Regions from separate parts of the Homo sapiens genome. Here all the other regions are linked to region 4. Evidence: promoter capture Hi-C in 16 types of primary human blood cells and fetal thymus (Javierre and others, 2016). All regions are on one chromosome and are shown on one strand. The core of a region is centred on a gene start or on the middle of the fragment in contact, and the rest is flanking DNA. Distances in the headings are between cores, read along the strand shown.

Region 1 (3,122 bases), core at 497-2,996, 250 kb before region 4:
CACTCCCGTGTGACTTTAAACTTACAGGACAGACGGAGGCCTTCCTCTGGGTTGCTGAGTCACAAGGGGCCACCGTTCAAGGCAGAAGAGCCTCCCAGAAGTAAAGAGGGTGCGTTTGGTGGGAGCATCTCTTGTTTAAGCCAAATTCTAGCACCACCCCAGGGCTGCTCCCAGGGGTGTGTGCAGGAAGCCAAGGATCCCCGACCGTCAGCCCAGCTCCTTCCTACAAGAACCACATGCCTTTCTCGGGGGTCCCACCTCCTACATCGTTTTAGGAATAGACTGCATGTGCACGGGGCAGGCCCACGGTGAGTGCCTGGGTAGCACAGGGGGTGCGCAGGGGTGAGGGATGCGGGAGAGGAGGTGAGTGGGGAGAAAGGCACCAGGACGACCTTGGGTGACAATTCCTGAGTCCCTGACTACTCCATTCTCTGATAAAACCTCAGGCATTTATCCGACACCTCCTACGTGCCCCGGGCTGAGCACCCCACACACATGATCTCAATCCTAAGCTGTGAGCTTATCTTCATCTGAGAGTTACTGAGACTTAGAGCCCATCACCCCAGGGTTACACCCAGAGTAGCTCACGGGGAGCCAGGATGGGAGCCTGATGTGTCTGAGCCAAAGCCCGGGCCTCTGGCTGCTGTGGGGTGGGGAGGGGTCCTGGGGTCCAGGCTCTGCAGAACCAGGCAAAGGGGAGGCATAGCTGCAGAGGAGCCTAGTCCTATATCAGGGAGACTGGCAGCGAGGCAACCAGGAGCACCCCGGGGGGAGGTTCTCCCTGCAGCCCCGACATGCCCCTTGGTAGCCCCTTTCCCTGGAGCCTCCCTCAGCCTCTGAGAAGAGCTGTGCTGACCCAGGGTTAGGAAGTGGGGGTGGCAGTCACATCGCCAGGCTGGGGTCGGGGTTGCTTACACCACTGTCAGGATGCCCGTGGCCGTGAACGTCAGGCCTTTCAGTTGGACGATGGGATCCACCAGGCTCTGCTGGCTCGGGCTGGTCCGGAATTGGGTGAAGGTGAAGTGGATCTTCAGGAGGTTTGAGTACTGCATCAGTGCAAACTGCAAAGGCCAGTGGGGAGGGCCCAGGGCTCAGTGCCTGTTACTATTGTTTTTATTTTAATTTTTTGTAGAGACAGGGTCTCTCAAACTCCTGGCCTCAAGTGATCCTCCTGCCTCAGCCTCCAAGTAGCTGGAACTACAGGCACACGTCACATGCCTGGCTTTGTTTTTTGTTTTGTTTTGTTTTTGGTAGAGACAAGGTCTCACTATGTTGCCCAGGCTGGTCTCGAACTCTTGGCCTCAAGCAATACTCCCACCTCAGCCTCCCAAAGTGCTGGGATTACAGGTGTGAGCCACCACACCAAGCCATATTGTTTTCAGTTTTAATAAACTTTATTTTGGAATTATTTTGGATTTACAAACCATTTCCCATGTGTTTTGAAGCCCTACAAATAATATACTGAAACCCAGAGAAGAAAATTCATTGGCCCAAAAATACAAAATATAAACTGGAAAATCTAAACCAAATGATATTTCCTTCACAGTTTATTAAAAATAACTTTGCCAACCACAATATTTGCTACCCTTAGCTTTTTAAAAATTTTATCACACATTAAATCAATTTGTGTATTTCCTCCCTTCTCAAGAATTTGTGGCTGGGCGTAGTGACTCATGCCTGTAATCCCAGCACTTTGAGAGGCCAAGGTGGGAGGGTTGTTTGAGCCAGGAGTTGGAGACCAGGTTGGGCAATATAACAAGACCCCATCTCTACAATAAAAATTTTTAAAAATTAGCCAGGCATGGTGGCATGCACCTGTAGTCCCATCTACTCAGGAGGCTGAGGAAAGAGGATCACTTGAGCCTGGGAGATCAAGTCTGCAGTGAGCTATGATTGCACCCCCACACTGCAGCCTGGATGACAGAACAAGACCCTGTTTAAAAAACAAAACAGTGGGGTTTTTTTGCACATACATAGGCACTAGTTATGGGAAAATAAAATAATAAAAAGAAATCATTAGTTACATAGAAAATATGTCAGTCAAATTCCATAGCAAAATTATTTTTTAAACACTTTCAATGTTTTTAAACAGCAGAAACATTGTATTTCCTGTAGCTTTTGGATACATTATTAAATGCCAAGAGGGCCTCCTAGGTCAGGGCTCAAGTTGGGCCTGTGCTGGGACCATAGCTTCATTCTCCACCCCAGCCCCATCACACACGGCTCACTGGCCTGCCCCCACCCCTCCCGGGATGCCTCCCCGAGGCCAGCCTCCCCCGTCCCCCAAACCCCAGCCCCAGGTGCCCAGTCTTCACCAGGGTGTCAGTGCCCTCAAACTGGCCCATGACAGCTTGGACAAAGCCCTTCATCTGGTTAAAGTCATTTTGGTCAATGCTTCCAGAGCCGTCAATCAGGAAGACGATGTCCATCTCTTGATGTGGACACTCTGTGGGGGAATGGGGAGGAATCGGAGATGCACTGCGGGGGCCCAACCCCCTCCTGCAGCTCCTGCTCAACAGAGCCCGGGGGCTGTTCTTGGCATCCCCACCTAGTTTCCGACCCCTCCTTGGAGGAGGCCCCAGTCTGCCACCCCAGCCCCCTGCTCCCTTCCTCCCACATGGCCTGGAAAGAGAGGGATGACAACACAGGACCCAGGTGGGCTCCTCATCCATTTAATCAACAAATATTCATTAAACACAGATGCTAGGGGTGCCACAAGCATCAAGGGCGAATGTTTAGCAAAGTGGTTCAGGGCGCGTGTTCTGGAGCCAGTGTGCCTGGGCTAAACCCCAGCTCAGCCACGTGCTAATTGGTGAATTCAGGCACATTACTTAACTTCTCTGGACTTCAGTGTCCCTATCTGTAAAATGAAGGTAATATCAGTGGCTACCACGTGGGATCACTGCAAGGATAAAGCAACACGCACATGGGTGCTGGAGACAAGTCCTGGCCCTCTGCCAGGGTCAGCCGCTGGCACCATTCTCACCACGTGCCAGGCACCTTCGAGGCCTGTAGGATATGCCTGTAGGGATGCTGTGGGGGTGGGGCAGGGATCCACCCCAGACCCCACCCTACCCCCAGTCGGTCAGAGGTCCTTATTTCCAGCTACGTGGAGTTGGCTC
Region 2 (3,040 bases), core at 52-2,551, 170 kb before region 4:
ACAACCTACCAAGCCTGAATCATAAGGCAATAGAAAGTTTAAACAGATCTATAATGAGTAAGGAAATTGAATCAGTAATCAAAGACCTCCTAACAAAGAAAAGCCCAGGACCTGGTGGCTTCTCAGGCAAATTCTACCAACCAAACATTTAAATAAGAATTAATATGAATTCTTCTCAAACTCATCCAAAAAACTGAAGAGGAGGGAATACTTCCAAACTTATTGTATGAGGCAAGCACTATCCTGACACTAAATCCCAACAAACACACCATGAGAAAAGATCACTACATGCCAATTTCCCTATTGAACATAGATCCAAAATCCTAAATAAAATACTAGCAAACTGAATTCAATAGCACAAAAGGGTCATACGCCATGACCATGTGGGCTTTATTCCTGGCATGCAAGGATGGCTCAACATATGCAAATCAATAAATGTGATGCACCACATTAACAGAATAAGGAATAAAAATAACATGATCTTATCAATAAGAAAAGAAAGCATTTAATAAAACTAAACATCTGTCTTAGCTTATTTGGTATAACAAATAACATAGACTGGATGGGTTATAAGCAATAGAAATTTATTTCTCATAGTTCTGAAGACTTGTGACATCCAAAATCAAGGTGCAAGCAGATTCAATATCTGGTGAGAGCCTATTTTCTGGTTCATAGGCAACCATCATTTTGCTTTTGTCTAAGGGCACTAATCCTATTAATGATGGCCACACTCTCATGACCTAAACACCTTCCAAAGGTCCCATCTACAAATACCATCACACAAGGAATTAGGCTTCAACATATGAATCTGGGGAGGACACAAACATTCAGGCCACAGGAATAGCCACTCATGATTAAAAACCCTCAACAAACTAGAAATACAGGGAAATTACATCAACATGATAAAGAACATTAAAAAAAGTGTCTAGTTAACATCATACCCAGTGGTGAAAATTTGATTTTACCACTAAAATTAGGAACAAGGCAAGGATGCCCACACTCACCACTTCTATTTCAACACAGTACTGAAAGTCCTAGCCAGAGCAATTGGGCAAGAAAAAGATAAGAAATGCATTCAAGTTAGAAATAAAGAAAAAAAAATTGTCCCTGTTTGCAATTGACATGATCTTATATATAAGAAACTTGTTATAAATACTCTACGAAAAAGTTATCAAATTTAATAAACAAATTTAGTAAAGTCATGGAATACAAAATGAACATACAAAAATTATTTGTTTCTATACACTAACAACAAACTATCTGAAAAAGAAATTAATCCTATTTACAATGGCATCAAAAAATAAAATGCTTACAAGTTAATTTAACCAAGAAGGTGAAAAATATGCACACTAAAACTATAAAACATTGACGAAAGAAAGTTAAGACAAAAATCAATGGAAAGATATCCCATATTATGGATTGAAAGAATATTTTTAAAGGTCCATACTATTCAAAGTGATCGATAGAGTCAATGTAATTCCTACCAAAATCCCAATGGCATTTCTTACAGAAATAGAAAAAACAATACTAAAATTAATATGAAGTCACAAAAGACCTCAAATATCCAAGACAATCTTGAGCATAAACAACAAAGGTAGAGGTATCACACTACCTGACATCAAAATACACCACAAAGGTATACTCAGCAAAACAGCATGACACTGACATAAAAACAGAGACATTGACCAATGGAACAGAATACAGAGCTCAGAAATGAACCCATGCATTTACAATCAACTAATTTTCTTTTCTTTTTTTTTTTTTTCCAGACGGAGTCTTGCTCTGTTACCCAGGCTGGAGTGCAGTGGCATGATGTAGGCTCACTGCAACCTCTTCCTCCCAGGTTCCCCCATTCTCCTGCCTCAGCCTCCCGAGTAGCTGGAACTACAGGTGCCCACCACCATGCCTGGCTAATTTTTTTTTTTTTTTTTTTTTTTTTTTTTTTTTTTTTTGAGACGGAGTCTCGCTCTGTCGCCCAGGCCGGACTGCGGACTGCAGTGGCGCAATCTCGACTCACTGCAAGCTCTGCTTCCCGGGTTCACGCCATTCTCCTGCCTCAGCCTCCCGAGTAGCTGGGACTACAGGCGCCCGCCACCGCGCCCGGCTAATTTTTTGTATTTTTAGTAGAGACGGGGTTTCACCTTGTTAGCCATGACGGTCTCGATTTCCTGACCTCATGATCCACCCGCCTCAGCCTTCCAAAGTGCTGAGATTACAGGCATGAGCCACCGCGCCCGGCCAACAATCAACTAATTTTCAACAAAGGTGCCAAGGGCATACAATGGGGAAAGGACAGTCTTTTTAACAAATGGTGTTAAGAACACTGGATATCCACAGGCAAAAGAATGAAACTGAGCCTTTATCTCAAACCAAATACAAAAATCAAAAGTGCTGGGCCGGGTGCAGTGGCTCACGCCTGTAATCCCAGCACTTTAGGAGACTGAGGCGGGTGGATTACCTTAGATCAGGAGTTCAAGACCAGCCTGGCCAACATGGTGAAACCCCGTCTCTATTAAATATACAAAAAAGTAGCCAGGCATGGTGGCGGAGGCCTGTAATCCCAGCTACTTGGGAGGCTGAGGCAGGAGAATCGCTGGGACCCGGGAGGTGGAGGTTGCAGTGAGCTGAGATCGTGCCACTGCACTCCAGCCTGGGCAATAGAGAGAGACTCCATCTAAAATAAAATTAAATTAAAAAATAAAAAAATTAAAAAGTGAGTTAAAGGCTTAAATGTAAGATCTAACACTATAAACTATTAGAAGGAAACGTAGAGGGAAAGCTTCATGACATTGGTCTGGGCAATGATTTTTTTATATGATCCTGAAAGCACAAGCAACAAAAACAAAAACAGACAAATGGAATTGCATCAAACTAAAAAGCTTCTGCACAATAAAGGAATAATTAACAGAGTGAAGAGACAACCTACAGACTGGGGGAAAATATTTGCAAACCACACAACTGATAAATGGTTAATATCCATAACACATAAAGAACTCAATAGTAAGAAAATAAATAACCCAATTTAAAAATGGGCAAAGAG
Region 3 (2,929 bases), core at 200-2,699, 150 kb before region 4:
AATACGGCGTGGTTTCACTTATATGAGTTATCTAAAATAGCCAAACTGGCAGGGTGCGGTGGCTCACACCTGTAATCCCAGCACTTTGGGAGGCCAAGGCAGGTGGATCACTTGAGTCCGGGAGCTCAAGACCAGCCTGGACAACATGGCAAAACCCAGTCTCTACAAAAAATACAAAAATTAGCCAGGCATGGTGGTGCATGCTTGTAATCCCAGCTACTCAGGAGGCTGAGAGAGGAGAATCGCTTGAACCCAGGAGGTAAGGTTGCAGTGAGCCGAGATTGTGCCACTGCACTCCAGCCTGGGCGACAGACTGAAACTTTTGTCTCAAAAACTAAAAAAAAATAAAACAGCCAAACTCATTGAAGCAAAGAATATAATGGTGGCTGCCAGAGGCTAGAGAACAATGAGGAGTTGCTAATCAATGGGTATACATTTTCAATATGCAAGATGAAGTTCAAGAGGTCTGCTGTACAACATTGCACCAATAGATGACAGTATTACATTGTACATTTTAAAATCTGTTAAGAGGATAGGTCTCATGTTAAGTGCCCTTACCACAATAAAAAAATTTTTAAACATAAAGAAAGAAAAATGTAAGGCTAGCAAAAACCCAGAGACCAGAGGCCAGAAAACTAGATGGTCTCAGGTGGCTATGGTGGGAAAGAATATGAACAGGGAAGATGGAACCAGACTGTAAGGGTCCCTCCAGACAGTGGGCTCCACCTGGCAGGAGACAGAAAGCCAACTTACAGAGCAAAACAGTTGTCAGGTCCAGAATATAGGGTGACAAGTCATCAGGATGGGCTCCATGCTTTGCAAGACCCAATGCAAAAAAACGTAGGACCCCTTGTTGAAAAATTACTAAGAATTGAAGATGGCAATAGCAGAGCATTAAGCCAAGCACAGGGCGATTCTGAGAGAGGGGCACGTGTGACTGCACAATTCCACATCTGTGAAGTGTGCAATCCCGTAAGGTGGCCAACCGCATAGGTTTCCCAGGATGTGGGATTTCAGTACTAAATCTGGGACAGAGTTAAGCAAACTAGAGCTCTTGGTCACCTTACCAGGACCGAGATTCAGAAGAAAGGAATGCCTGCATCCCAATACTGCTAGCTTGCCATTTGCCATCGCTGGGCCTTGATCTACTCATCTGTAAAGTGGGGGTGATGAGGCTATCATGCACCTCCTATTGCTGTAGAAATAATCAATCTGGAACTAAGAGTCTTTGAGATTTCTGTGAATGTGTGTGTGTGTGTGCACGTGCACGCATGCATGTGCAAGTCTGACTCTGTCACTCTGGCTGCTGGAGTACAGTGGTGTGACCAGGACTCACTGCAGCCTCAACCTCCCAGGCTCAAGTAATCCTCCGGCCTCAGCCTCCAGAGTAGCTGGGACCATGGGTGTATGCCACCACACCTGGCTAATTTTTTTTTTTTTTTTTTTTTTTTGGAGAGATGGGTTCTCACCATGTTGCCCTGACTGGTCTTGAGCTCCTGGGCTTAAACAATCCTCCCAACTCAGCCTTCCAAAGTGCTGGGATTACAGGCGTCAGCCACCAGGCCCAGCCACATGTTATTATTTTTGAAGGTTCTGAAAGGAGTACTGTGAGAACTTATCTGGCAGCTGTGGGCACACTGAATTAGGAGAAAGATCAACAAAGAGGCTACTGTCATGACAAGGACAGTGACCAGGTCTCACCTGGCTATGGGAGGGGCTGATGCCAGATCCTGAGGTTCCGTGAAACAGGTAAACAGCACCCCGGTTGTCCTCCTCTCCTGGGGCCCCAATGGCCACGTCCGTCAGCTTGTCCCCATTTACGTCCCCCAGCACTGTTAGGGCTGCCCCAAAGCGGCCCCAGGGTTGGCCCTGCTCCCCGTAGAGAACAGCATCACACTGCCACCGAGCCCTCTGCTAAACACAAACAGTATCAGGCCCCAACCCAGGCGACCCCTCCACCCACACCGGGCCCCACCCAGCCCAGGTCCCATTGCCACTCACCCCCCTGGGCAAGGGGCACACGGACACCTGGCCCCCTCGGGTCTGCTCGTAGTAATGGGGGGCCCCGATGAGGACCAGGTCGGTGCTGCCGTTGCTGTCCACGTCCACGGAGCAGAGGGAGGCCCCGAAGTAGGCGCCGATCTGAAAGAGACAGGACCGTAATCACACACCTCTTCCCACCTAAAGCAGATGTGGAGGTTTTCTCTCTCTGAAGAAAAGTTATGCCTGCTGGGGGAATCCCTCTGGAGCAGATGTGATCTTCTATATGGTTCATGATAAATTATCACTTGAATGTGCTGCCAGCTAAAGGAACCTATATAATAAGCCTGGCAGAATGGTTTCTGCCTGTAATCCCAGCTCCTCGGGGGGCTGAAGTGGGAGGATCCCTTGAGCCAAGGAGTTTAAGGCTGCAGTGAGCTTTGTCACCACTGCACTCCAGCTTGGGCAACAGAGCAAGATCCCAATCTCTAAGTGTATATATATATTTTTTAATAATTTAAAAGATAAAAAATAAGCCTATAGTAGAGTCAATGGGCAGTGAGTGAGGATTTACTCCAGGTGGTATTCCTGGGAGATTATTAAGGCAGCAAAGAAGAATTTGGGTTGGAAAATACATAGAAAATTCTAGAAGAGAAGACAGAATACCACCCTTTCAATATATTGGGAATCTTTAGGGAGGTAAAAAGTCAAAGTTGGCACTCTGACTAATAAGGCTAATAACTGGCTTAGATTAAAAATAACTATTTGTTATTTGAATATTTGTTGTGATATTAAGAAATATCTTCAAGGTCAATATGTAGAATTCATCCATAAAATTCACCTATTTAATCATACATTCATTCATTCATTTATTCATTCATTCAACAAACAAGTGTTTCTTATTGCTAAGCACACAGCTGGGTAATAGAGATACAGTGCCTTCCAGGGC
Region 4 (3,310 bases), core at 469-2,968:
GAGTGAGACCGTGTCTCTAAAATTTTTTAATTGGTTTAATTAAAAATAGAGAGGATGAGATGAGAGTGAGATGGGGATTTTTCTTTCCCCACTCCCTCTCTGCTGGTAAAGGCTGCATTTCTCTATTGAAGGCCACGGCTCCTAACAGCTATCTCTTCCATAGCTGCAGCTCTTGCTGGGTTCCAGTAACTGCCCCCTCTCTGCCTCTTCAGGCCAGCAGGTAGCAAGGGCTCTCTATTATTGCTGGCCCCAGGATGCGTTACCATCCCTCTTTGGTTTCCTTTTTTTTTTTTTTTTTGTGAGACGGAGTTCGCTCTTGTCACCCAGGCTAGAGTGCAACGGCGCTATCTTGGCTCACTGCAACCTCCACGTCCTGGGTTCAAGCATTTTTATCTGCCTCAGCCTCCCTAATAGGTGGGATTACAGGTGAGTTCCACCACACTCGGCTAATTTTTGTATTTTTAGTATAGATGGGGCTTCTCCAAGTTAGCCAGGCTGGTCTTGAACTCCTGACCTCAGGTGATCTGCCCGCCTCGGCCTACCAAAGTGCTGGGATTACAGCCGTGAGCCACCCAGCCTCTTTGGTTTCCTTTGACCCTGCCTACACTTCTATAAATAGTTTCTTCCTTAAACTCTCTTCAACTCCTCTTTGAAGAGCCATATGTTTCTTTCTTCTTCTTATTCTTCTTTTTTTTTTTCTTTTTGTTGTTGTTGTTGAGACAGGGTCTCGCTTTGTCACCCAGGCTGGAGTGCAGTGGCACAATCATAGCTCACTGCAACCTCGACCTCCCAGGCTCAAGCAATCCTCCCACCTCATCTCCCGAGTAGCTGGGATACAGACGTGCACCACCACGCCCTGCAGTTCATAATTTTTGTATTTTTTAATTTTTTGTAGAGATGGGGTCTTGCTATGTTGACCAGGCTGGTCTTGAACTCCTAGCCTCAAGCAATCCTCCCACCTCAGTCTCCCAGAGTGTTAGGATCACAGGAGTGAGCCACCGTGCTCGGCCAAGTCATATGTCCCTTAAACTGGCTCTTACTGATACACACCAAGAGGTTGGGTTACTTTCCCAAAGTCACACAGAGTAAGTGACAGGGCAGCTAAGAGCATTGTCACTGGAACACAGAGCAGGGTGGAGGCTTTTTCAGCCTCGCCAGCCTGCCCAGCCCCCTCCCAGGGTCCCTATGCCCTGCCCAACCTGCTGGAATCTGTGATCCTTTTGTTGGGATGGGATTGAATTCCCTAGGGCTCCTGTCCCAGACCTGGCCAGCAGCTCCAGTAACCAGAGCTGTGTGAGAAGAAAAGGCCAAGCCACTGGGGCAGCCGCACCCCAAACAGAGGTGAGGTCTCCGATGAGTCATGCCCGTGAGGGGCCACTTCCCCTGTCCTAAGGGCCACTGCTCACCAAGGACACAGAACACTGTCCTCCTCTTTGACCTTTGCCTGCAGTGTTTTTCATCCCTCCCTCTCCCACCCAACAGGTGTCCAGGAGCTAGGACACCTGTCCTCCACCCCCACCCTGGGCCTCCAGAGACATGAGATGTGCGCAGGGCTCTGGGTGGGGCCTTCAGGCTCCCCAGCTTCCCCCTTCCAGCCCCAGATCCTCTCAGATTCCCAGAGATGGGCTCCAGCCAGGGAGGGTGGGGCTGCCCCTGGGACCATCAGGAGTCACGGGCTGCCTGGGCAGTGACAGAGCCCTGCAGGGAGCAGACCTTCACTTGGCTCTGCCTCCGCTGACTCTAGCGCCATGGCCCGGCACCTGCTCCTCCCCCTTGTGATGCTTGGTAACCTCAGGGGACAAGAGTGGCTGCAAAGGGCCTGGGTCCTGGCATCTGGGGGGCTGGAGAGCAGGATTCCTGGTTTCTGTGTGGGGAGCAGGAAGTCAGAGAGAAGGAAGTGAGGCAGCAGAAGGCGAGGATGTATCAGAGGAGGGAGAGGGAGGCCTGGGTGCCCTGGGGAGACGGAGGCTAGGAGGCTGGGGGAGGGAGTCAGGGAGGGCACATACTGAGTGCGAGTCGCCAGCCTCTTCCTGCCTACCTCTGTCTTTCCAGTCATCAGTCCCATCCCAGGAGCCTTCCAGGACTCAGGTAAGGTAGCCGGACTGGGGGAAAGTCACGTGCAGAGGCAGAAAAGACCAGAGGACTGGCATGGGTGCTGGCAGGGGTTGCTGAACGGACAGGGAAGTGGGAAGATAGGGTCGGGGGTTGGAGAGCAGGAAGTGGGGCTGGGCGGTGCAGGCCTGGAAGTCACAAGTGTCCTCCTCTCTTTCCCCTCTGGCTCCCAGCTCTCAGTCCTACCCAGGAAGAACCTGAAGATCTGGGTAAGGAAGAGGCCTTGGCACCCTCAGACCTTAAAGGAGGCTAAGGCTGGTCAGGCCATGAGGGAGGTGGAAAAGACCAGAAATGTAGACAAGCCTGGGTCCTCTATGTTCTTTGTTCAGAGGGGCAAACTGAAGTGGGTGGAGGACGGGCCTTCGTCCTGAGTTACCTGGGCTTCTGGAGTGGGGAACCCGAGGGGAGCTTTGGCTTCCACGGCTCCCCGTTGCAGACTGCGGGCGCCCTGAGCCCTCGGCCCGCATCGTGGGGGGCTCAAACGCGCAGCCGGGCACCTGGCCTTGGCAAGTGAGCCTGCACCATGGAGGTGGCCACATCTGCGGGGGCTCCCTCATCGCCCCCTCCTGGGTCCTCTCCGCTGCTCACTGTTTCATGACGTGAGTATTCGCCCTGGTCCTGGCCCCTCTCCGCCAAAAGCTGGCCCCCGCCCCCGCAGTTGGTCCCCTCCTCCCGCCCCACTTCCGTCCTCAAGGATAATTTGGAGCCAAGCTGTCCCCAAAGCGAGGTGCTATTCGAGGCATCATGGTTCCGAGTGGGGCAAGGCTGCCGGACTGGTCCCACCACTCCACTCAATATCCGGGTCTGAATCCCATCTTTCCAATGACCCCCCCACCACCAGCTCCAAATCGGATTTGCTCTTCCCCTTTGAGGAGTATCAGCACCAAATCTGGATCGGATAGCACCTGCCCCTCTGGCTCTGAGCCCCTGCCCCCAACGAGGGTCTGCCCCCTCCATAGGGTCAACCTAACCTCCTACTGCCCCGGTCGAGCGCAGGAATGGGACGCTGGAGCCCGCGGCCGAGTGGTCGGTACTGCTGGGCGTGCACTCCCAGGACGGGCCCCTGGACGGCGCGCACACCCGCGCAGTGGCCGCCATCGTGGTGCCGGCCAACTACAGCCAAGTGGAGCTGGGCGCCGACCTGGCCCTGCTGCGCCTGGCCTCACCCGCCAGCCTGGGCCCCGCCGTGTGGCCTGTC
Region 5 (2,940 bases), core at 76-2,575, 180 kb before region 4:
GCCTCATGCATGCACAGTGGCAGTGGCCTCCGCTGTCTCCTCCATGAGTCCACTCTTTCTCCAGTGGGCCATATGGATCACGGCGTGGTGACCTCAGTGTTCCGAGGGGTGCAGGGCAGGATCTGCTGTGCTCCTAAAGGTCTAGGCTCCAGAACTCACACGACCACACTCCTACTGTATTCTATTAATCAAAGCAAACCACGGGACCAGCCCAGATTCAAAGAGGTAGACAGGCCGCACCATGTGATGTCAGGGACAGCAATGTCACACTGCAAGGGTGTAGGGCCGGGAAGCACCATTCACTGGGAGTCAGAATTGTAACCATCTCCCATGGTGGCCCAAATTAAGATTCTACTCTAAGTAGGAAAAGGAGAGTGGATACTGAAGGGATTCATTTATTCTGAAGTGAGAAATCCCCAAAAATAAAAGCAAGCAGACGTTCCTGGACTTGGCCACTTATCACCAGATTTATGGTCCTGTTTATTAGTCACTTTGTGGTCATGCTAGGGAAATCTGTCGCTTGAAATGATTGACTTTTCTAACCCATCATAAAGCTCCTATCTGGCTGAATTCAACACAAGCTTCTCATTTGAAGACGCGGAGGTGAACTCTGAGTTCACAGGACTTTAACTGCCCTGCAAAGACTGGCGGCTACAGGCACGGAGGCTGCAAGGACAGGCAACTACAGGTATGGAGGCTGCCAGGACAAGCAACTAGGTACGAAGGCTACAAGGACCAGCATGGAGGCTGCAAGGACAGGCGACTACAGACATGGAGGGTGAAAGGACAGGCGACTAAAGGTACAGAACTCTCTCTGTTCCCGGAGCAATTCAGGACTTCTGCAGATATTGAGGACTTTTATCTTTCAACATAAGGAAACACAGAAATTCTTAACAGACTTTATTTAAGTCAGGAGAGGAAATAGCAAAGAACCGTCTAAAGGTGACCGTGTTTTGTGTCACCCCCACAGATACAAAGGGCCATTGTCTCATTAGCCACCTTTTGAGGGCATCTCACTTCACTTTGAGTGAAATTGGAACTACTCACTCTGGCTTACAAAGCACTCATGCCCAAGCCCTGCCCACTCTCCCAGCCTCCCCTGCCCTCCCTTCTGCCTGGAGATCTTCTGGCCCTGCTTCAGTCAGGTGTCACCTCCCTTGGGGACCCTTCCTTCACCTCCCTAAGGAGTAAGCCCTCTCTCCTCCTGCCACATGTGAAACAAGTGTCCCTCTAAGCCATGATTTTCTTGTATTTCAATGAAGATCATGAAATTACCATTTTTTGGCTGGGCACAGTGACTCACACCTGTAATCCCAGCATTTCGGGAGGCCAAGGCAGATGGATCACCTGAGGTCAGGAGTTCAAGACCAGCCTGGCCAACATGGTGGAACCCCATCTCTACCAAAAATACAAAAAAAAAAAATTAGCCAGACATTGTGGTGCACGCCTGTAATCCCAGCTACTCAGGAGGCTGAGGCAAGATAATCACTTGAACCCGGGAGGGAGAGGTTGTAGTGAGCTGAGATCACACTACTGTACTCCAGTCTGGGCGACAGAACAAGACTCCATGAAAAAAAAGAAAGAAAGAAAGAAAGAAAGAAAGAAAGAAAGAAAGAAAGAAAGAAAGAAAGAAAGAAAGAAAGAAAGAAAGAAAGAAGGAAGGAAGGAAGGAAGGAAGGAAGGAAGGAAGGAAGGAAGGAAGGAAAGAAAGAAAGAAAAAAGAAAGGAAGGAAGGAAGGAAGGAAGGAGGAAGGAAGGAAGGAAGGAAGGAGGAAGGAAGGAAGGAAGGAAGGAAGGAAGGAAAGGAAGGAAGGAAGGAAGGGAAAGAAAGAAAGAAGGAGAAAGAAAGAAAGAAGGAGAAAGAAAGAGAGAGAGAAAGAAAAGAGAGAAAGAGAAAGAAAGAAAGAAAAGAAAGAAACATTTTTGTCCAAAAACATGTCATCAATTTCATATGCTTTAACCCAATATCATAACAGTTAAATAACAGCCACCCTCTCCCCACACTCCCTCATGCCTGTTCTGGGGCCATTCCTCTGAGGCTGTCAGGACAGTAAAAGAGAAAAGCTTTAGACCTAGGCAGAGCTGGGATTAACTCCTAGCTCCATTCCTTCCCAGCTGTATGACCTCAGGCAACTGGTATGATCTATCTAAGCCTAGGTTTCCTCATAAGTGAAATTCATGTAAATACCAAGGACTGGTGTGAGGATTAGAGAGGATGTATGTTCAGGCCAGGCTAGTGTTTACTGTGTTTGCAAAGTATGAGGGACAGGCACTGGGCATCCTCCCTCTGAGGAAGCAGCCACCAAAATGTCACCTGCACACACCTTGGCAGCAAGTGCTCCTGGTGCCCTGACCTGAACCAAAGGCACCGTGTCAGGGGCTGTGTTCACCTGTCAAACATCCAGCCAGCAGCACTGGTATCACTTTCTCTGGCCACTAGAGCCCACTCTCCTCACACTCAGGGCAGGCCAGAAGTGGTAGGAAATTAACACACTCTCCCCACCAAGAGCAGCCCTCATCCAATAGCTAAGTGGAATCGGTGTCTATGCGCTCCAGCCTTCTCCCCTGGGTGGGGTGATACTGAGGTGCGTGTTCTGCACTGCCTCCGAGAACTGCCCAGTGGGGTGAAGCTCCAGGAACTCACAGCAGCTTCTCTGTGGGTGATACACCTGTTATTGGCAGCCTTCCCTTCCTCGGTATTTCCTGGAGCCATCTCTTTATTTTATTTTATTTTATTTATTTTTTTTTTTTTAAGATGGAGTCCTGCTCTGTCGCCCAGGCTGGAGTGCAGTGATGCAATCATATCTCACTGCAACCTCTACCTCCCAGGTTAAAGCAATTCTCCTTCCTCAGCCTCCCAAGTAGCTGAGATTACAGTTGCCTGCCACCATGCATGGCTAATTTTTTTGTATTTTTAGTAGAGACGGGGTTTCACCAAGT
Region 6 (3,226 bases), core at 720-3,219, 210 kb before region 4:
CCCTCCCTCCCTCAGAAGCCTCCTGTGACCCAGGGCCACTCACCAGCAGCTGGGAAGGGCTGGTGGTAGACGCCAGGGACAGGCCCAGGGACATGTTCACGGCCTCCGGGGGCACTGTGGGGACAGATATGTGCATGGTCACTCTCGGGGGTACAGAGAAGGCTGTGGAAGAGCTGGGCAGGGGTCACCTCCACCTGGGAGACAAGGAGGTCTGACGGTGAAGGAAGCTGTCGGGTCTTGACAGAGCTGCGGGAGTGCGATGGGCGGGGAGGCCTTAAGGGGCCAGGAAGCATATCTGAGGGTGAGGGTCTCAGACACAGTGGAAGCTGAAAGTGACACTCCGGTGAGTCCACGGGCCCCTGGAGCAGGGAAGCCTGGGAGCCCGGCCCTGGGTCCCGGGAGGGGCGGTGACTCACCCTGCAGGCCGATGGGCTCACAGGCACCAGTGCTGTAGCCACACTGGTAGAGGCCACCCGTTTGGTTGGCAGCTGTTATCTTTTGGGGGGCTCCAACCACCACCCTGCGAGGAGACAAAGAACACTTTAGGTAAGAGTGTGGACGCTGCAGCACAGCTGCCACTCCGGCAAGTTTGCGTTCCCTCCCTGAGCCTCAGCTTCCTCATCTGCAAGATGGATTTTAATAATTTAAAGTCCATGTGGAAGGGATTTCTGTCTGTTGGATTCTCTGGCGTATGGAGACAAGAAATATTTGTTGAGTCTGGGTGTGGTGGCTCACACCTGGAATCCCAGCACTTTGGGAGGCTGAGGCGGGAGGATTGCTTGAGCCCAGGAGTTTGAGACCAACCCAGGCAACATAGTGAGACCCTGTCTCTATATATTTTTAAATGTATAGAAAAAAAGAAAGAAAAAACAAATAAGTGTTTGTTGCACGACTGATTCCTACTCACAGGCTGTCGTGTGGACTAAATCAGCATCCACCTGTGATGAGCCTGGCACTGCACTTACTGCTCTGTAAATGTTAGCTGTGAGACCGTGCCTGCCTTCAAGGCAAATCTTCATTAGCCAGGGCAGTCGCTACACCAGACAGAGAGGAGAGTTTGCAAATAACAGGGCAGGGCCGGGGGCATGGGGCCCTGAGCAGGGAGAGGATGGATGGAGCCAAAGGCCAGCACCACCTGGGCCTCACCAGGAGTTGGCATACTGGACCACGCTGTCTCCAAACCCAGCGCTGTCCACACGGAAGGCTGTCAGCTCCTCTGTGTCCAAGTTGAAACCTAGAGAAGTTGCTAAGGCTGGGAAAGAGGTGGGAAGAGAGCTTTGGAGAAGGGTCTTCCTTCTGCCTGGCTGCCCTCCACCCCCGGCCCCAGCGTCCCAATCTCCCCTCCGAGCCTGATGCCCGGGGTGCCTGGGTCTTCTGGACACCCAACTCATCCCCTTCTCTCCTTCCCAGGGTCCAGGGATGCCCCTTGCCCACCATCCACTATCGAGTTGCAGTTCTCCATTTCTGCAGAGCAGTACCCAGGCTCTAAAAAGGATCTTTCCCCAACGTGCACCTCGGGCGCTATGAGAGTGAGTCCAGGAAAACTTGCGGACCAAAGCATCCTGTCCACAGAGCACAAGTTGGCGCATTCTGCCTATTTTAAAAATCTCTGCAGTACAGAGACAACTGGCCTCTCTTCCAGCATCTCTGGAACTCTCCCAAAATTGGTTCATCAATATCCTCTCCCTCCACAAACTCCAAATCTCAGACCCTATGTGCCTGCCTCCCCCTCAGGCTTGACTGAGTCTCTCTTCCTACCCAGATCCTAACCCCCCAGCCTGAGCCCCCAGTTCAGGGCCCTGGCTCCCTTGGGCCTGGGTCCCCAGCCCTACTTCATTGGGGTCCAGGCTCACCTGTGAACAGGAGGAGTGCTGCCCTGGTCCTGGTCATGACTAGAAGGTCAGATGTGGAGCTCTGAGCTCCTGGGCCGTTGCAGGAAGAGCTGGACCAAGGTACTGAGGAAGCAAGTGGGCAGAGAGGTGGCCAGGGGAAGGAAGAAGATTGTCAGCATGAGTCAGAGGGGGCGGGCAGAGTACGCAACTGATCCGAGGACAGGCTCGGCCTCCCACACGCCCCCACCCCCCAACCGGAGTCACTCTCATCAGATGACTTGGCTTGATGCCCTTTGCTTAGATGGATGCAAATCCCTGCCCTGCCCCTCCCAGGCTCACCCTTGACTGCCAGAAGGCACCCCTTGACCTTGAAATTTCAGCCAGACTGGAGGGGGTTTGGGCAGATGCCAACCCCTCAGGACCCTAAAGGAAACCCTGGTGGGAGCCCTCCACTCTGACCTGGAAAGTCTGGGCCAAGGAGTGGGGCATCCGGGTCCCTAGGAGGAGCACAGAGCGAGTATTTGTTCATTCATTCATTCACTCATTTATTCATCATTTATTCAAGAAGCCTAATTTGAGCCTGGAGATGCAAGCCCTCTGCTAGGTGGGGAAGAAAATATAAACCACAAAGCACCAGCCCTGGGGTCAGTGGAGAGGCAGATGTATAAACAGCAAGTTCATTGCTGTGAGGGGGAAGCACAGAGACCACAGGGTGCCTCACCCGGGTTGTGAAGGTGTGGCTTTCTGAGAAGGCTTCCTGAAAGAGGTGGTGCTTGAGCTGAGCATTGAAAGCAACCAAAGTTGGGAGATGACAGAGCAGCCAGACATGGATGAGGCAGGGGACAGGAGGGTCTGTGTGTGAAATCAGCAATGGGAACCAGACAGTCAGGGTGGGAAGTTGTAAGAGACAAGGTCAGGGCCACTGGGAGGAAAGCAAGGGGAAGCAGGCCTCAGGCCGTGGAAGCCCCCCTAATGTACATCAATTTTTTTTTTTAATTTCAGAAACAGGGTCTTGCTCTGCCACCCAGGCTGGAGTGCAGTGGGTGCATAGTTCACTGCTGCTTCGAACTCCTGGGCCCAAGGGATCCTCCTGCCTCAGCCTCCTGAGTAGCCAGGACTATAGGATTGCACCACTGCACCTGAATATATATATATATTTATATATATATATTTTTTAATTTTAGTAGAGACAGAGTTTCCCCATGTTGGCCAGGCTGGTCTCAAACTCCTGATCTCAATCAATCCTCCTGCCTCAGCCTCCTAAATTGCTGGGATCACAGGTGTGAGCCACCACACCTGGTGAAGACACATTGATTTTGTCCTGAGAGTGGAGGACAGCATTGAAGGGAATTCATGGGGACTGAGATCTTCACATTTTCATTTTAGAAAGTGGG
Region 7 (3,346 bases), core at 1-2,500, 160 kb after region 4:
GTCTGCACACAAGCCTCGATCACGTTCCGGGTACCTGGCAGAGGAGGAGGCGTATCCAAGCTGCAGCTTCTTCCCTCTCTGCATCTTCCTCCTCCCCATCCCAGGTCCAGGGAAAACCATGACAGGTCAGGGGAGGCGGGGGCAGGGCTGTCAATAGGACAACTTGTCCCAGGGGAGTCACCGGAGGTCAAGGCCAAAGACAGAGTGGGGAACAAACAGGCAAGATGGCCAGGAGTGTCCAGAGCTCCTCACCCTGCACGTTGACCTCATGGATGGTCTTGGGACTGGCCCTGCCAAACACGTCTACCAGCCCAGCCGTGTGGATGACCACATGGGCTCCGGCCACAGCTGCTGCCACCTCATGGGCCTGGGTCACGTCCCCCTGGATGGCAGTCACCCTCACAGGCCCTGGCCGGGGTTGGAGGACACAGGCCATGTCAGAGCTGGGGCCAGAGGCCAGAGGCTGGGTTCATCTTCCACCCTGGAGTCACGTTCCCAATGTGACTCACTCGACCCATCCATGTGGACAGAAACCAGCATCATCTGTTCCACTGCAGGGGTGGGGATCCCAGCTTGGGAAGGGTTGGGGAAGCGTCCACACCCTCTCCACCACAAGCTCCCCCAACAAGAACCTGTCTTCAGCTCCTCCAGCCAGGGACCCAGGTGTTGGTCAAAGACCCGCAGCTCCCCGAGCCGGGGCTCCCGCTGCAGCAGCATTCGCACCACGTGCTCTCCCAGGAAGCCACAGCCCCCTGTGACCAGGTACACCAGCTTCTGGGCCTGTGCAGAGTCGGCCATGCCTGGCTGGGGAAGAGACCTTGGCTCATCCAGGGGCTGGCTGCCACCTGCTGCAACCACCTGTTACTGCTGGAGGTGCCCTGGAGCGGTGACGAGGCTGGCGTTTGCGGGGAGGGCAGAGCTGATCCTGGGAGCTGCAGCAACCAGGCCACCTGCCGTCTGCCCCTGCTGATGGCTGAGTTACGGAGAGAGGGGCGGGCTTGGGGTGCAGGAAGGGGTCAGGGTTTAGGGAGAGAGATTTGAAGGCAGTAAAAGGGTGGGGAGGCCAGGAGTTGAGGGAGGTGGAGGGAAGGTTATAGGAAGGTGGGAAGGGCCGGATGGAGGGAAAGGCCACCTGGGCACTGGCAGCGCCTCTGCCTACCTGCAGCCGCTATCCCAGGGTGCCCAGACTGGCCTGGAGGGGCCCTCTTCTTTCGTCCAGGGCTGGCCGGCCCGCACACCGTCCTTCCGCTGGCTCCTCCTTCTCCCTCCTGCCCCATTCCAGGAACAGAGACCCGCCCAGCCACAACCCCCACCACTCTTGCCCCAAGGCGCCCCCTGGCGGCCGCTCTGTGCTCCACTGGCATCTGGGTCCAGCGGAGAACTTGGTGGGGATGAAGCTCGAACTTGCAGAGTGGGCTGAAGGGGTCTGGGGCTGTGGGTGGAGCCAGCGGTGACCTCATCCCACAGTGTGACCTCAGGCCTTCCCTCCTGCTGGGCTTCCCAGGAGGCCGGAGGTCCAGCTGCAGCTGTGATTGTAGGAAGGGGAGGCCTGACCTTGGCACCACCCTGGCGGGCACTGGTGGGGTATTCCTGGTGCGGGTGCGGCTGCTGCAGCCTGTCAGGGGGTCCGAGACAGTCTCGGACTGTCTCTGCAGGTCTGGGCTCTTGCCTGAAGGCCCCTTTACCTGCCCCACACTTCAGGTACCCACTTTTCCCTCTCTTCAACTTGCACAACCCTCCGTGCCCTCTACCCCCAACCCCTCGCTCCTGCCCAAATACACCGACCAAACACTTTTGTACAATAAAGTTTAATCACAATTATAAAAATGTGGCGTCGGGTTTGCGCTATTAACATATGTACAGTCCAGCCCAGCAAAAGGGACCCACCCCGCCATCCTGGCCTGGCTGAGCCGGGGAGTGACACCAGGGTGGAAGGGTGACCCTCAGGGTCTGGCAGGAACAGATGAGGCAGGGTTCCAGGCACGGAGTCCCCAGGACTGGGGGTGCAGAGCCCCCCCAGGGGGAGAACATGGCCACTGCCCCAGAGACCCCTAAACTGGGGAGGGGTACACGCAGGGCGTAAGGGGAAGTCCCCATTAACACAAAGCAAGAGGACTGTGTAGCCCCCCAGGACAGAATCTGTACAGGCCGGCACCCCAGGTTTCCACAGGAAACAGCTGCTGGCTGCTACAAAACATTTACAGCTTCTTCTCCGCAAAGAAAAACAATCAGGGGGTGGTGGGCAGGGGTGACAGGAGAGGCAGAAGCTGCCTCCAGGGACTGAGGCTCCCTCGCTGGGCTTGGGGCCCCCAACCCCACGCTTGGAGATGGGGGCATGTGGGCCCTGCTGAGCCCACTAAGGCTGGGGGGGTGCTGGGAGCTCAGGGCACCAGGGGGAATAAATAGGGGTGTGGGCACCCATCCTGCCCCACCTCAGTTTAGGGAGCCCCGGCAGCTCTCTGTGCCACACAGACACGGGATCTTGTTGTCTTCCAGTGGGAACTTGTAGTCGTAGGTGATCTCCTCGTCCACGCCAATGGGCTGCTTGGAGTAGATCACGATCTTCTTCTGGGACTCGATGGTGATGACCTTGGCGTAGCAGTTAGGCTGCGGATGGAAGGGCGTGTGAGCCGTGGCCACCCCCACCGACCCCCAACTCCTGCCCCGGCTGGCCCCTGGCGCACCGTGCAGCAGTGGTTGATGAATCTGGCCAGGTTGCCACACTTGGTGGCATCGATGATGGTGTCGTGGTCCACCCGGAACAGGTAGCTGCTGCCAATGCCCTCCTGCACGTAGCGCTTCTCCCGCATGTCGGCCACCATCTGCCAGGGTGAGATGCGATGGTCAGGGAAGAGTCCCCCACTTCCTGCCCCTGAGCACGCCTGCCAGCCAGCACCCCAGGTCCACGCCCACCAGGCCTGGAGCTGCAGCTCTGCCTCCAGCTCCCGCTAACCCGGCACTGACTCTCTCGACTCTGCTTCCAGGAGCCCTCCCTCTTTGGGGCAGCATCCTAAGCCTCTGGTGGCCATTCTAAGTCACCCGCAGGGAACTCCAGGGAAATCTGCACTGGGTAAGAGAGCCACTGACTCCTTCGAGCATCTGCCTGGTCACAGTGGGGTCCCGGACTGCTGGGGCAAGTCTGGGGTTGGGGCAGCTCCTGAAATGACTGGCCATGTCACCAACGGCACCCTGCTCATCTCTCCTCCCTGGACCTCTCTCCAAAACAGGCACCTGTTGGCTGCCACCGGCTAATGCAAATGGCAGGCCGCCCATGTCAGGCCCCGCACCTCCGTGTGAGGAGCAACCCTTACTTCCCAGAAGACAGTGAGGAGCCTCTGCACGCCCT

The links. The method cuts DNA at HindIII sites, captures the fragments that hold promoters and counts their contacts. A CHiCAGO score of 5 or more calls a contact.
Region 1: a fragment that was not itself captured here is called in contact with the fragment with the promoter of PRSS36 in region 4 in 12 of 17 cell types (M0 macrophages, monocytes, M2 macrophages and 9 more); the score reaches 12.2 in M0 macrophages.
Region 2: a fragment that was not itself captured here is called in contact with the fragment with the promoter of PRSS36 in region 4 in 3 of 17 cell types (M0 macrophages, monocytes and M2 macrophages); the score reaches 7.6 in M0 macrophages.
Region 3: a fragment that was not itself captured here is called in contact with the fragment with the promoter of PRSS36 in region 4 in 6 of 17 cell types (M0 macrophages, monocytes, M2 macrophages and 3 more); the score reaches 8.8 in M0 macrophages.
Region 5: a contact is called between a fragment that was not itself captured here and the fragment with the promoter of PRSS36 in region 4, in 10 of 17 cell types (monocytes, M0 macrophages, total B cells and 7 more). The highest score is 8.8, in monocytes.
Region 6: the fragment with the promoter of ITGAX here is called in contact with the fragment with the promoter of PRSS36 in region 4 in 15 of 17 cell types (monocytes, neutrophils, M0 macrophages and 12 more); the score reaches 11.4 in monocytes.
Region 7: a contact is called between the fragment with the promoter of HSD3B7 here and the fragment with the promoter of PRSS36 in region 4, in 7 of 17 cell types (M1 macrophages, megakaryocytes, endothelial precursors and 4 more). The highest score is 7.0, in M1 macrophages.

The regions. Positions count from the first base shown.
Region 1 is chr16:31,401,439-31,404,560 of GRCh38, reverse strand. ITGAD (integrin subunit alpha D) reads right to left here. Exons shown (of 30, transcript NM_005353.3): 6 at 2,316-2,446; 7 at 916-1,061. Among named protein-coding and RNA genes, the nearest start is that of ITGAD, 9.7 kb to the right of the region's middle. The HindIII fragment of the contact is 7,259 bases long and covers 1-3,122 here.
Region 2 is chr16:31,315,113-31,318,152 of GRCh38, reverse strand. The region is part of intron 14 of ITGAM (integrin subunit alpha M); the gene reads right to left. Among named protein-coding and RNA genes, the nearest start is that of ITGAX, 39 kb to the left of the region's middle. The HindIII fragment of the contact is 2,960 bases long and covers 1-2,781 here.
Region 3 is chr16:31,296,727-31,299,655 of GRCh38, reverse strand. ITGAM (integrin subunit alpha M) reads right to left here. Exons shown (of 30, transcript NM_000632.4): 13 at 2,002-2,142; 14 at 1,702-1,911. Among named protein-coding and RNA genes, the nearest start is that of ITGAM, 38 kb to the right of the region's middle. The HindIII fragment of the contact is 4,791 bases long and covers 1-2,929 here.
Region 4 is chr16:31,148,474-31,151,783 of GRCh38, reverse strand. PRSS36 (serine protease 36) reads left to right here and starts at 1,718. Exons shown (of 15, transcript NM_173502.5): 1 at 1,718-1,785; 2 at 2,053-2,088; 3 at 2,286-2,321; 4 at 2,549-2,711; 5 at 3,109-3,310. The coding sequence starts at 1,749. RefSeq lists enhancers at 1,474-2,010, 2,011-2,546, 2,547-3,084. The HindIII fragment of the contact is 9,446 bases long and covers 1-3,310 here.
Region 5 is chr16:31,333,387-31,336,326 of GRCh38, reverse strand. No RefSeq gene overlaps it. Among named protein-coding and RNA genes, the nearest start is that of ITGAX, 20 kb to the left of the region's middle. The HindIII fragment of the contact is 1,483 bases long and covers 584-2,066 here.
Region 6 is chr16:31,353,919-31,357,144 of GRCh38, reverse strand. ITGAX (integrin subunit alpha X) reads right to left here and starts at 1,969. Exons shown (of 30, transcript NM_000887.5): 1 at 1,854-1,969; 2 at 1,147-1,252; 3 at 417-520; 4 at 44-114. The coding sequence starts at 1,890. RefSeq lists enhancers at 2,198-2,387, 2,578-2,707. The HindIII fragment of the contact is 18,983 bases long and covers 1-3,226 here.
Region 7 is chr16:30,983,111-30,986,456 of GRCh38, reverse strand. It overlaps HSD3B7 (hydroxy-delta-5-steroid dehydrogenase, 3 beta- and steroid delta-isomerase 7), which reads right to left and starts at 1,250. Exons shown (of 7, transcript NM_025193.4): 1 at 1,160-1,250; 2 at 633-804; 3 at 253-408; 4 at 1-34. The coding sequence starts at 798. It overlaps SETD1A (SET domain containing 1A, histone lysine methyltransferase), which reads right to left. Exons shown (of 19, transcript NM_014712.3): 18 at 2,685-2,822; 19 at 1,793-2,607. The coding sequence ends at 2,434. RefSeq lists an enhancer at 1,269-1,781. The HindIII fragment of the contact is 29,451 bases long and covers 1-3,346 here.